2 separate regions of the Homo sapiens genome follow, and region 2 is linked to region 1. Evidence: promoter capture Hi-C in human tissues and cell types (Jung and others, 2019). All regions are on one chromosome and are shown on one strand. Each heading gives the region's core, a stretch centred on a gene start or on the middle of the fragment in contact. The rest is flanking DNA. Distances are from core to core; before and after follow the strand shown. Region 1 holds the start of GTF2B (general transcription factor IIB). Region 2 has its middle 290 kb from the start of PKN2.

Region 1 (5,627 bases), core at 2,204-4,703:
ACAATCATAAATTCTTGGTATCACTGCAAATAAGGCCCTTTTAAAAACCATCTGAAATACAATAAATGGTTAGGTTATGGACATCAGATACACGTAAAAGACAAAATCAACTGTTCTTATAGTATGTAAATAGTATTTGTGGTTTGGGGTAAAGTTTCTCATGCTAGCAAATACAATTCAGAATGTTAACTCTCAACTCAGAAGGTGATATCTACGGGAAAACTGATAAAATAATCCATATTCCCCCCTAAACTTATCTAGTCAGCTTAACTAGAATATGTCTTGAATCTTCTCATTGGGAACACGGGGGGATGAGTATTACTTCATATTTGTGTTTATTCCATAAATTCCTCTAAGGAAAGTATTTTAATAAATTATGACAAATAAAATTAAACAGTTGATATAAATTATGAAAAACCATGTTGAAATAAAGGAAAATGTTAGCAGAGTAACAGTAATTACAAATTAGTAAAAGAGGAGGCCATGTGCAACACGTGCTAAGAACTAATATCTCTGCAGTATTAAAAAGTAGATAGAAAACTATAGTTTGTGTAATGATACAGAAACATCTCAAAGATATGAAGAGTGAAGAATAAGGTAGAAAACCTATACAAAGCTGAAAAGTATGAACTAACCATACACCATAACATGGATGAACCTCAAAATACTAACAGAATCTAGACAGCAGAATACATATGCCATTTATGACAACTTTAAAGCAGGCCAAATGAATTGATGGAGTTAGAAATCAGGATGTGGTTTTCTCAAAGGAGGGGGAATGACTGAGGACAGAGACTTTGCTAGTGTCTTAGCTAGTGCTAGTGGTATCTGATTTCCTTACCTGGGTAGGAGCTATATGTATGTGCTCACTTTGTAACTGAGCTGCCCACTTTTAAAATGTGCTAACTTCATTAAAAAAAGGTAAAAGCAAGGTAGTGAATGGAGTTTAAATTAGGTCACTTTCGTGGGGGAAGAGAGGTTAGAACTATTCCTATACATTTGTTAAAGCATAAACACTAGGAAAACACCAAGAGACTAGTAATTATGGCTGATCCAGGGAGACTTAGATGGCTGGGAGCTAGGAAAGGAGGAAGACTACTTTTCATGGTTTTAGTCTATTGCAATTTTGCTTTTGGACCATTTGTATGTGTTACCTATCAAAATAAAAGTATGCTAAATTAGTAAACTTAATCAAATTACCCACAATACAGAAGAGGAACCATACAAATGGGGTGGTGAAGGTGGTAACAGAGAGAAACAATAGGGAGGAATAGAGAAACCACCACCACTGACATTAAAACGATTCGAGACTACTCAAGTACCAGATAATCCCAAACCCCATTTTATAGCTATCATTTATTGGGCATGGACTGTATTACTTGTGTTATACATTTATTATTGTCAATCTCCACAACAATCCTGCAAGAAAGGCACTATTTCACATTTAAAAAATTATGCTCAGAGAATGATTTGCCTGAAGTCATGGAACTAATAAGTGGCGGAGCTTACATTTGAACTCAGAACATTTGTACTCCTCTGTGAGGACACCAGCCAGTTTCATGGCCTAGTGACAATACACCTTCCTGAGGGAAAAACATGCAAAAGGTAGAAATATTATATTTAGGCTGGGCGCAGTGGCTCATGCCTGTTACCACAGCACTTTGGTAGGCCAAAGCCGGAGGACTGCTTGGACCCAGGAGTTCAGGACCAGCCTGGGCAATGTAACTAGGCCTTGTCTCCACAAAAATAAAAATTAATAAAATTTAAAAATAAAAAAATTAGCCAGGCACGTGGTGTGTACCTATGGTCCCAGCTACTCAGAAGGCTGAGGTGGGAGGATCACTTGAACTGGGGAGGTCATGGCTGCAGTGAGCCATGATCGTGCCACCTACACTTCAGCCCAGGCCTGTTCCATAAAATAAAAAATACTGCATTTAACTTTCTTTGTTGTCACTGATAGAAAAACTTGAGCAATAACTGCTATGATACATAAATTGCACATATCTAGAAAAAAATTTCAGACTTAAAAAGCCATGATAGAATTAAAAAAAAAAAAAGCCATGGTAGAATTTTAAGTCGTATTTGAGTGATCTGGGGAGCCCAAGTTTTCCATTTACCTACAAGGAGGCCTTACCCGACAGAACAACACCCAGATAGAATGACTGAGCATCCAATCCAAGAATCAGAATCAGTAAACAAGAGTGTCACTGGCTTTATGAGTTCTGTTCAAACAGTATATTAGCTAAAGCTGCCTCCCACCCCAAATTCCTTTTCTAATCATAAAATGTAAGTCTTGGCAGTTACCAGAAAAGGCTATTTTGTAAAAATGGCTTTCACTGTGAAATTAACCAATTCCACAGATGATAGCAGGGTCAGAAAAATAGTGCCAGAGTTCCAGAAGCTGTAGAATTAATTTGATACTTTCAACACAGGATTAGTTAACCAAAGGCCAGGTGTGGATAACAGGAAACAGGTTGTCTTAGACTCTACACTCTAACACGACTCTTGGAAAAGTCAACATTGGCATGACTCAGTTTACACTTATGCAAAAATACTAATATCTACCTCACAGTGGTAATGAGAGACATAATTAGGGTCTGCAAGCATTTTTCAGGTCACAAGATTAAAGGCTGTTTCTGAGGGTACTGCATGCATTTCCTGTAGATATGAGTACACTGCATTCTTAAATATATACTAAAAAGCGACCTCCCAGCACATATAACTAATTTTCTTTGGCAAGATTTTCTTCAGAAGTACACAGGCAACGATATTTGTAAACAAATCCTTTAGCAGGGAACTAATCAACTCTTCCGATGGCTCTAGCTTCCACTTCCGAGGCCCGCTGTGATGGTAACCAACCAGGTTCCATCTGGCTTACCAATGCTGACGTTCCCAACTTCCTAGCTGTCAGATCGATAGGAACCTGAAACTAACTGTTTCCCGTTCCTTTGAAAAGGAGAAATTACGGACCCTCGGGTTGTTTGGGCCGTAGATGAAAAAAACAAGCGGGGGGGGGGGCGCGGGGGAGGAGAGGAGGGAGGGTGGGAAGAAGAGAAAATAAAGGGAGATTGAAATATTGGGAAAAGATACGAGGGCAAGGACTGGGGACACAGTAGCCCACCAGGACCCACATAGGGTGATATCTACATAAGACTCCAGGGCAATAACGTCAACAGCTCGGTAACCCCTGCGACACCCTGACAGTCCTGCCGTCTGGAAGTGCCTTTGTCCCGGCCCGTCGGCCAGTCCCGCCGCTTCTCTCCCATACCCCTAGGCGCTCAGCCCTACGAGGCTGCCCGGAGGCCGCCTAAAAGCCGGCGGCGCTCGCGCCCGCCCCTCAGCTCGCCGGGCTCGGCGGGACATACTAACCGGCTGGTAGACGCCATCTTCACGGCGACTGCGGTGCCCGCAACAAGACACAACAGACACACCGAAAGCAGGAAGCGAATGTGGCGAAGAGACGCGCAGAGATGAGTTTTTATAGACGACTCACCCACGCAGTCGTAGCAGAGCAGGGCTACGGGTCGGGAGAAGGGCCAAGAACAGTGAGATCCCATACGTCACGTGCTTTGCGATTTCTTACGTTCTTACTCCGTTTCTGTAATTTGCTATGTTGCTAAGCGAGTCAACGTAACTACCTAGGAAAAGTCTCATGGGAACCCTGCAAAGGGGCTACAACAGAGCTACTCTCAATCTGACAGTTAAAACACAAAGAAAACCCTGGCTTCGTAGTGGTGCCAAAGCCTGCATCCCTAATAGTTTAACCACCCCTTCCTCTCCCACCTTCTCACGGCTACCTTCTCACGGCCACCACCTACCCCGCCCCCAGCCCCCCACCCCGCGTCAGGCACTCCCATTTGAGCCAGTTCTTACGTGCCCCAAGGGTGATTCTTTCTAAGAAATTTGAAATAAAAGGAGAAACTCACTTAGGTCATCCAGAACAGGTGTCTGTTCAGGATCTGTCATCAGCTAGCATGTTGTCTTCTTAGGCACGTCCTTTATACAGGTCATGTAAGTTTATATAGGTTATGGTATCTTGCCTTGCATACCCTTTTAGAATTGGCAGAAGATGAAACAAAACTACGTGAAACCAATGTGTACACAAGAGGCACGACGATATGGGCCATGCTCTGATCATTTTTTTTTCACGGCCTTTGTAACGTTGGCTGATAGCTACATATAGAAAACTTGCGAGAACATCTAGATATTGCAAAATATCCCTAGATTTATTAATTAGCCAAACTAACGTCAAAATTGTAATACCACTATTACTAACAACAATAACAGTTACCGGTGGAGAGTATTCACGTTCTTGGCGTTTTGAACAAAGAACTGGACACAACGCACAAACTAAGGAAAGAATGAAGGAATAAAGGCAGAGATTTATTGAAAACGAAAAGGTAATACCAGCTCAAGACTCCTTTTGCAGAATTTTCGGGGGTTTAAATACCCTCTAGAGGTTTCCCATTGGTTACATGGTGTACACCCTATGTAAATGAAGTAGTGGCTCCACAATCAGTCTGATTGGTTGTGGAAAGCAACCAATCAGAGGCTAAAGTGAAGTTACAAAGTTACACTCCTATGCAAGCGTCTGATTGGTTGCAGAAAGCAACGAATCAGAGATACTTTCAATTTCACATCTGCCACACGGCTAAAGTGTGTGTGTGTGTGTGTGTGTGTGTGTGTGTGGTTGTGTAGTGGGGAGGGGGTTGCAAAGGGAGTAACGTCTGGTTCTTTTGTTACTTAGGTGTGGAAAGTTGGGGTTTTCCTTTTTTTTTTTTTTTTTTGAGACGGAGTCTTGCTCTGTCGCCCAGGCTGGAGTGCAGTGGCGCGATCTGGGCTCACTGCAAGCTCCGCCTGCCAGGTTCACGCCATTCTCCTGCCTCAGCCTCCCGAGTAGCTGGGACTACAGGAGCCTGCCACCACGCCCGGCTAATTTTGTTTTTGTATTTTTAGTAGAGACGGGGTTTCACCCTGTTAGCCAGGATGGTCTTGATCTCCTGACCTCGTCATCCGCCCGCCTTGGCCTCCCAAAGTGCTGGGATTACAGGCGTGAGCCACCGCGCCCGGCCGGGGTTTTCCATTTGATTTAGTTCTAGGAAATCAGTGTGAATCTGCCTTAGGTTCCCTGCCTTCAGACAGTATTCTCCTGCGGCAACACTTTGCTGACAACTATTCTTGAAAATACGGGGATTGGTATTTTCATGGTGGTTTTCATGGGGCTGAGAACTTAGAAGATAATGACTGCTTCCTTCATCTGGGGATGGGATTTAAATGTAATGGAGCACTCACTGTTTTCTTGAGAAGGTGGGAGATACTAGCTTCCTTAGAAAGAAAAAGGGGTGCGAGAGGCAGGATTTTAGGAACTCAAATCTAGGTGGGAACCGGGGAGCATGATTTCTTTTTTCTTTCCCAATCCCAATCTTCTATTTTGTAATTCTGTAATTTTAAAAACTTGACTGTACTCTTGTGGGGGTTTTTTCCTCCCTCAATATTTTTGTCAAGTGCAACCAGGAAAGGGCTTGGGGGTGCTGCACCTCAGTCCAGTAGAGGTTTCATAGTAAAGCATCTTAACTTGGAGGAAGAGGAGGAATAAGACAACTGTGCATCTCTTAAGGATCCAGAAC
Region 2 (5,149 bases), core at 2,284-4,783, 500 kb before region 1:
GTGCACTGGTCTACCATGACTAACAGACCCCTCCCAAGGGGGATGTACTGCACACCACCCATCTAATCATGCTGGTGAAGACCTCTTTTTTTTTCCTGGGGCAGAAAAAGGGGTGAGGCAGATATAAGTGCCATATGACACACACACTTATGCACTGCAAAAAATTTCGCTGTGTAACCAGAACATGGAAAGATTTTCTCCCAGTAAGGAAGAAGAGTCTGGAACCAAGCAGCAGCACCACCCCAGCCTCTACATAAGAGGGTATGTTCCAGGCCCAGATAACTGATTGGGCAATCCTGGGGTGGGGCAACAGGTGGCACAATGGCTTATTTCTCATCAATTTTTATAGCAAGTCCCTATTTATTCTAACTTTTCCATTCTCAAGTAGTTTTTTACATGCACATTACAAGGACTACTGATAGGAAATCACAAAACATCACTGAGAAAATGCTATCCTAGTGTGTTGTGTGCTGAATTCAAATTTTCTACCCATCCTTCTTCTCCAACACATGTCATATTGATTAAGAAAAAATACTGATTTTGAAAATAGTAAAAAATAATTGCTATACTGCTTTGTAAAGCATCACAAACAAACCTATCACAGATAGTCAAAGGTAGAAAATGCTCATAAAACCTCACTGAAAACAAATATATCTATAAAAAAAGTTTTTCAACCTTTCAAAAGCAGTAGGTGGGTTATGGAATTCCACCATCTCAAGTAATTTCAGACTCTGTTTGGAGATGAAATTGCTTAAATTTTTACCACTATTGCACATACCCGTAACACATATTTGAACCAGAGCAGACTTTGTATCTGATAAAAGCTTCTCTCAAACTTAAGAGCTTATTGTCACTCATCTTCAGAGGACTATTATTCACTTTTATGAGTTTACATATGCATGTCATATCTTATTTAATAGGCTTTATCAATTTAAGACAATCAACAAAACTTGAATCAAAATGCAGACAAGCCAAAAAGTCTAATATACTACCAGAGACATCATCCATGAAAATGGATTGAAAAGGTCAAAAGGAATTTACTGCAGGCTTTCTTTAAGCACTATGTTTGTTGAGAAAAGCAGTCTATGTATTCATGAGAAAGAATAAGAGGTCTAATTTCCAAGTATATAAAACTAACATAATTCAACTATATGGTTTCTGAAAACATACTGAGAAAAACAGGACCTAGACTTATAAAAGGCAAGATACACTGCTCCTAAAATATAAAAGTCATGCTATCAGAATATGTAACGCAATCAGGCACTGTAATCTCCTGTTTACTGCTATAATTTGGGGGGAAAACAATGTTACTAAGATGACATTTATTTTTCAATTACACTCTTCCCACATTTGAGGCTATTTATGTTTCTCTCACTTTAATGTGGCTGTTTAGGGCAGAGAATCTGATATACTGGAAATAAGATGGATCCCAAAGTTGGAAGACTTGAGTTTGATTCCCAAATCTGACACTTGTTATATTCTAAAATTTAGGCAAGTCACTGAGTCTGTTTTCTTCTCTGTTAATGGGGTAGCCATTATACCTGCTTTCCAAGATTTTAAATGAGAAGAGGTCTGAGAAATGAATGTGCAAACTTTAGAATGCTCTACAAATATTATTATTATTGCATATTATTGAATCCCCCAGCATGAAACACGTTACTCTGAATATTAATAGTATTCAACACTTGCTTATTGAGCGCAACACACTCAATTGAAATGGTGAATTAATCTTATACGGTCAGAATTAGGAAGCTTACTCTTCATGAGACACATTTCAGAAGGTGAGAAAACTCAAATTGTGAAGCAAGCTTAGTTTTCCTTAAGATGTACAGTATGTTTAATGGCCTCGAACTGTCCCTCTGGCATCCAAAAGCTTATTACTTCCCTGATTTAACCCAAACCTCTCTTTTATCCTCATTATCTACTTCTCAATAATCTTTTTCCCTAAAATGTGAACTGTCGGCTAGCCAACCGGGTACACTAAGCTTTGTAAATAGGGAAGAAAGGAGTCATGGATCAATGACACCTCCCTTCCTGCAATTTTCTCAACATTTACCTTTGTGTGTTCATCAATTAATTTCTCATAAATCCTGAGGCCCACCCTGATTGATATTAAAAGCCTGCTTTACGAACAACATTTAAAATATATATTCAGTTATTATATTTAATGAATATTGCTGTAGCCTTCTAAGTTTCCATAATTGTTATGAAAATTCAAGGTTCTACCTGGCCAAATTTGGCCAGTATACTACTAGTACACTGACGACCAGTGTAACTTTTATGCTCCGTTTCTTTTTGTCTGTTTTGTTTTTGTTTTTTGAGACAGAGTTTCGCTCTTGTTGCCCAGGCTGGAGTGCAATGGCGCGATCTCGGCCCACTGCAACCCCTGCCTCCCGGGTTCAACTGATTCTCCTGCCTCAGCCTCCCGAGTAGCTTGGATTACAGGCATGCGCCACCACGCCTGGCTAATTTTGTATTTTTAGTAGAGACAGGGTTTCTCTATGTTGGTCAGGCTGGTCTTGAACTCCTTACCTCAGGTGATCTGCCCACCTTGGCCTCCCAAAGTGCTGGGATTATAGGTGTGAACCACCGCGCCCAGCCGCTCTGTTTCTTTTTTAATTATAAGTTTTGATTTTAAGTCATTCCTTTACTGTTATAGCTGAGCATAAGCTGCTAAAAGTAACCATGCCAGTTCTTGAGTGCTTTGCTACTTAGAAACTTCTTCTGCCAGATATTCTTAAGTCATAACTCTATGTTTGGCCTTCCATAAAGCCCCAGGGTATGAACACAGGTCTGCCAAGCTCTTTGCTACTTTACAGCAAGGGTGAGCTTTGCTCCAGTGTACAAATAAATACTCCTCATTTCCATCTGAAGCTCATCAGATTGGCCTTTATTGTCCATACTTCTATCTGCATTTTGGTCATGACAACCAAACTTTCCCTTGTCTTTCTGTCTTCTTCTGAGCCTTCACCAGAATCGCCCTTACTGCTTCATTCACTGTCACTGCAGTAGTCTCTTTCTAGCCTCGTCCTCCAAACTCTTCCAACCTCTGTCCATATCCCAGTTTCAAGGCCTCTTCCACATTTTCAGATATCTGTATAGCAAGAGCCCCATTCCTCGGTACCAATTTTTTGTCTTCGTCCATTTAGTGTTGCTATTAAATAACAGAATACCTAAGGGTGGGTAATTTATAAAGAAAAGAGGATTAATTAGCTTATGGTTCTTCAGGCTGGGAAATTCAAGGGCATGGCTGAGCTTCCAGCCAGGGCTTTCATGCTGAATCATAAGATGGTGGGGAAAATCAAAGGGCAAGCAGACATGTGCAAAGAGGCAAAATCTGAGGGACATCCTGGCTTTGTAACAACTCACTCTGATCAGATCTAATCCATTCCCTTGAGAACTAATTCAGCCTCACCAGAGTGAGAACTCACTGACTACCGTGAGAACAGCACTAAGCCATTCGTGAGGGATTCCATTAGGTCTCACCTCCCAGCAGCACCACACTGGGGATAAAGTTTCAACATAGGTTTTGGTGGAGACAAACTCAAACCACAGATACCCACACATGCACACACAACCACATTTATAACCACCACTGTGAATAATGCTCCTTACAATTTATGCGGTGCACACCCTGCAAAGCCACATATGGTAATCACCTCTTCCTCATAAGTAAATAAGACTTACCTTGCCATTTAAGGCATTTACGATAATTTCAATAAATAGCTATGATCATTATTATTCATATTATCTATAGTAATGCCTAGCCTATATGTCCTTGATACAAAAAGCTTATAACTGATATTGCCATTCCCAGACAATAATATAACATCACTACAATAAAGTTCTACTGTACCATTATTTCGCACTTTGTAAATGAGAAAAGCAAACAACAGGAGCATAAATGGTTTTCTAAGTACTTTTCAATATTTTGGAATCTGGTAAAATTTCTAGTCAGTTAAAAATGTTTGCACTGGCCAATATATGTCTACCAATGCCACCCAAAATTTTTCTTTATTTTTTTGAGACAGAGTTTCCCTCTGTCACCCAGGCTGGAGTGCAGTGGTGTGATCTCAGCTCACTGCAACCTCTGCCTCTCAGGTTCAAGCGTTTCTCCTTCTTCAGCTTCCTGAGTAGCTGGAATTACAGGCACCTGCCAACCACACCCAGCTGATTTTTGTATTTTTAGTAGAGACGGGGTTTCACCATGTTGGCCAGGCTGGTCTTGAACTCCTGATCTCAAGTTATCCTCCCATCTCAGCCACCCAAAGTGCTGGGATTACAACATAAGCCACTGCGCCCGGCCTCATATTTCCTACATTAATGAAAAACCAGCATATGGCTACAGCAAAGTCTACTTGTGGTTCAAATCTGGACTTAGATTTCCAGGAAAAGCAAGCACGAAAGAAATATTGAGGTGTAATAAAATATATTTAAATTACATTAGGTTCTTCTGTTGAACTGAAATTAAAACTTCCTAAAACTGCTGAAAGAAATCATAGATGACACAAACAAATGGAAACACATACCATGCTCATGGATGGGTAGATTCAATATTGTGAAAATGACCATACTGCCAAAAGCAATCTACAGATTAAACACAATCCCCATTAAAATACCACCATCATTCTTCACAAAATTAGAAAAAGCAAATTCACATGACACCAAAAAAGAACCCGCATAGCCAAAGCAAGACTAAGCAAAAAGAACAAATCTGGAGGCATCACACTACCTGATTTCAAACTATACTATAAGGCCATAGTCATAAAAACAGCATTGTATTGGCATAGAAATAGGCACATAGACCAATGGAACAGAATAGAGAACCCAGAAATAAACCCAAATACAGCCAACTGATCTTTGACAAAGCAAACAAAAACATAAAGTAGGGAAAGGACACCCTATTCAACAAATGGTGCTGGGATAATTGGCTAGCCACATGTACAGGAATGAAACTAGATCCTCATCTCTCACCTTATACAAAAATCAACTCAAGATGATTAAAGACTTAAACCTAAGACCTGAAACTATAAAAGTTCTAGAAGATAACATCAGAAAAATCCTAGACGTTGGCTTAGGCAAGGATTTTATGACCAAGAACCCAAAAGCAAATGTAATAAAAACAAAGATAAATGGCTGGGACCTAATT

The links. The method cuts DNA at HindIII sites, captures the fragments that hold promoters and counts their contacts. A contact is called where the count stands out against the background at its distance.
Region 2: a contact is called between a fragment that was not itself captured here and the fragment with the promoter of GTF2B in region 1, in 1 of the 25 tissues and cell types used here (mesenchymal stem cells).

Annotation. Positions count from the first base shown.
Region 1 is chr1:88,888,114-88,893,740 of GRCh38, forward strand. GTF2B (general transcription factor IIB) reads right to left here and starts at 3,454. Exons shown (of 7, transcript NM_001514.6): 1 at 3,370-3,454. The coding sequence starts at 3,386. RefSeq lists an enhancer at 3,630-3,739. The HindIII fragment of the contact is 18,960 bases long and covers 1-5,627 here.
Region 2 is chr1:88,388,602-88,393,750 of GRCh38, forward strand. No RefSeq gene overlaps it. Among named protein-coding and RNA genes, the nearest start is that of PKN2, 290 kb to the right of the region's middle. The HindIII fragment of the contact is 6,292 bases long and covers 388-5,149 here.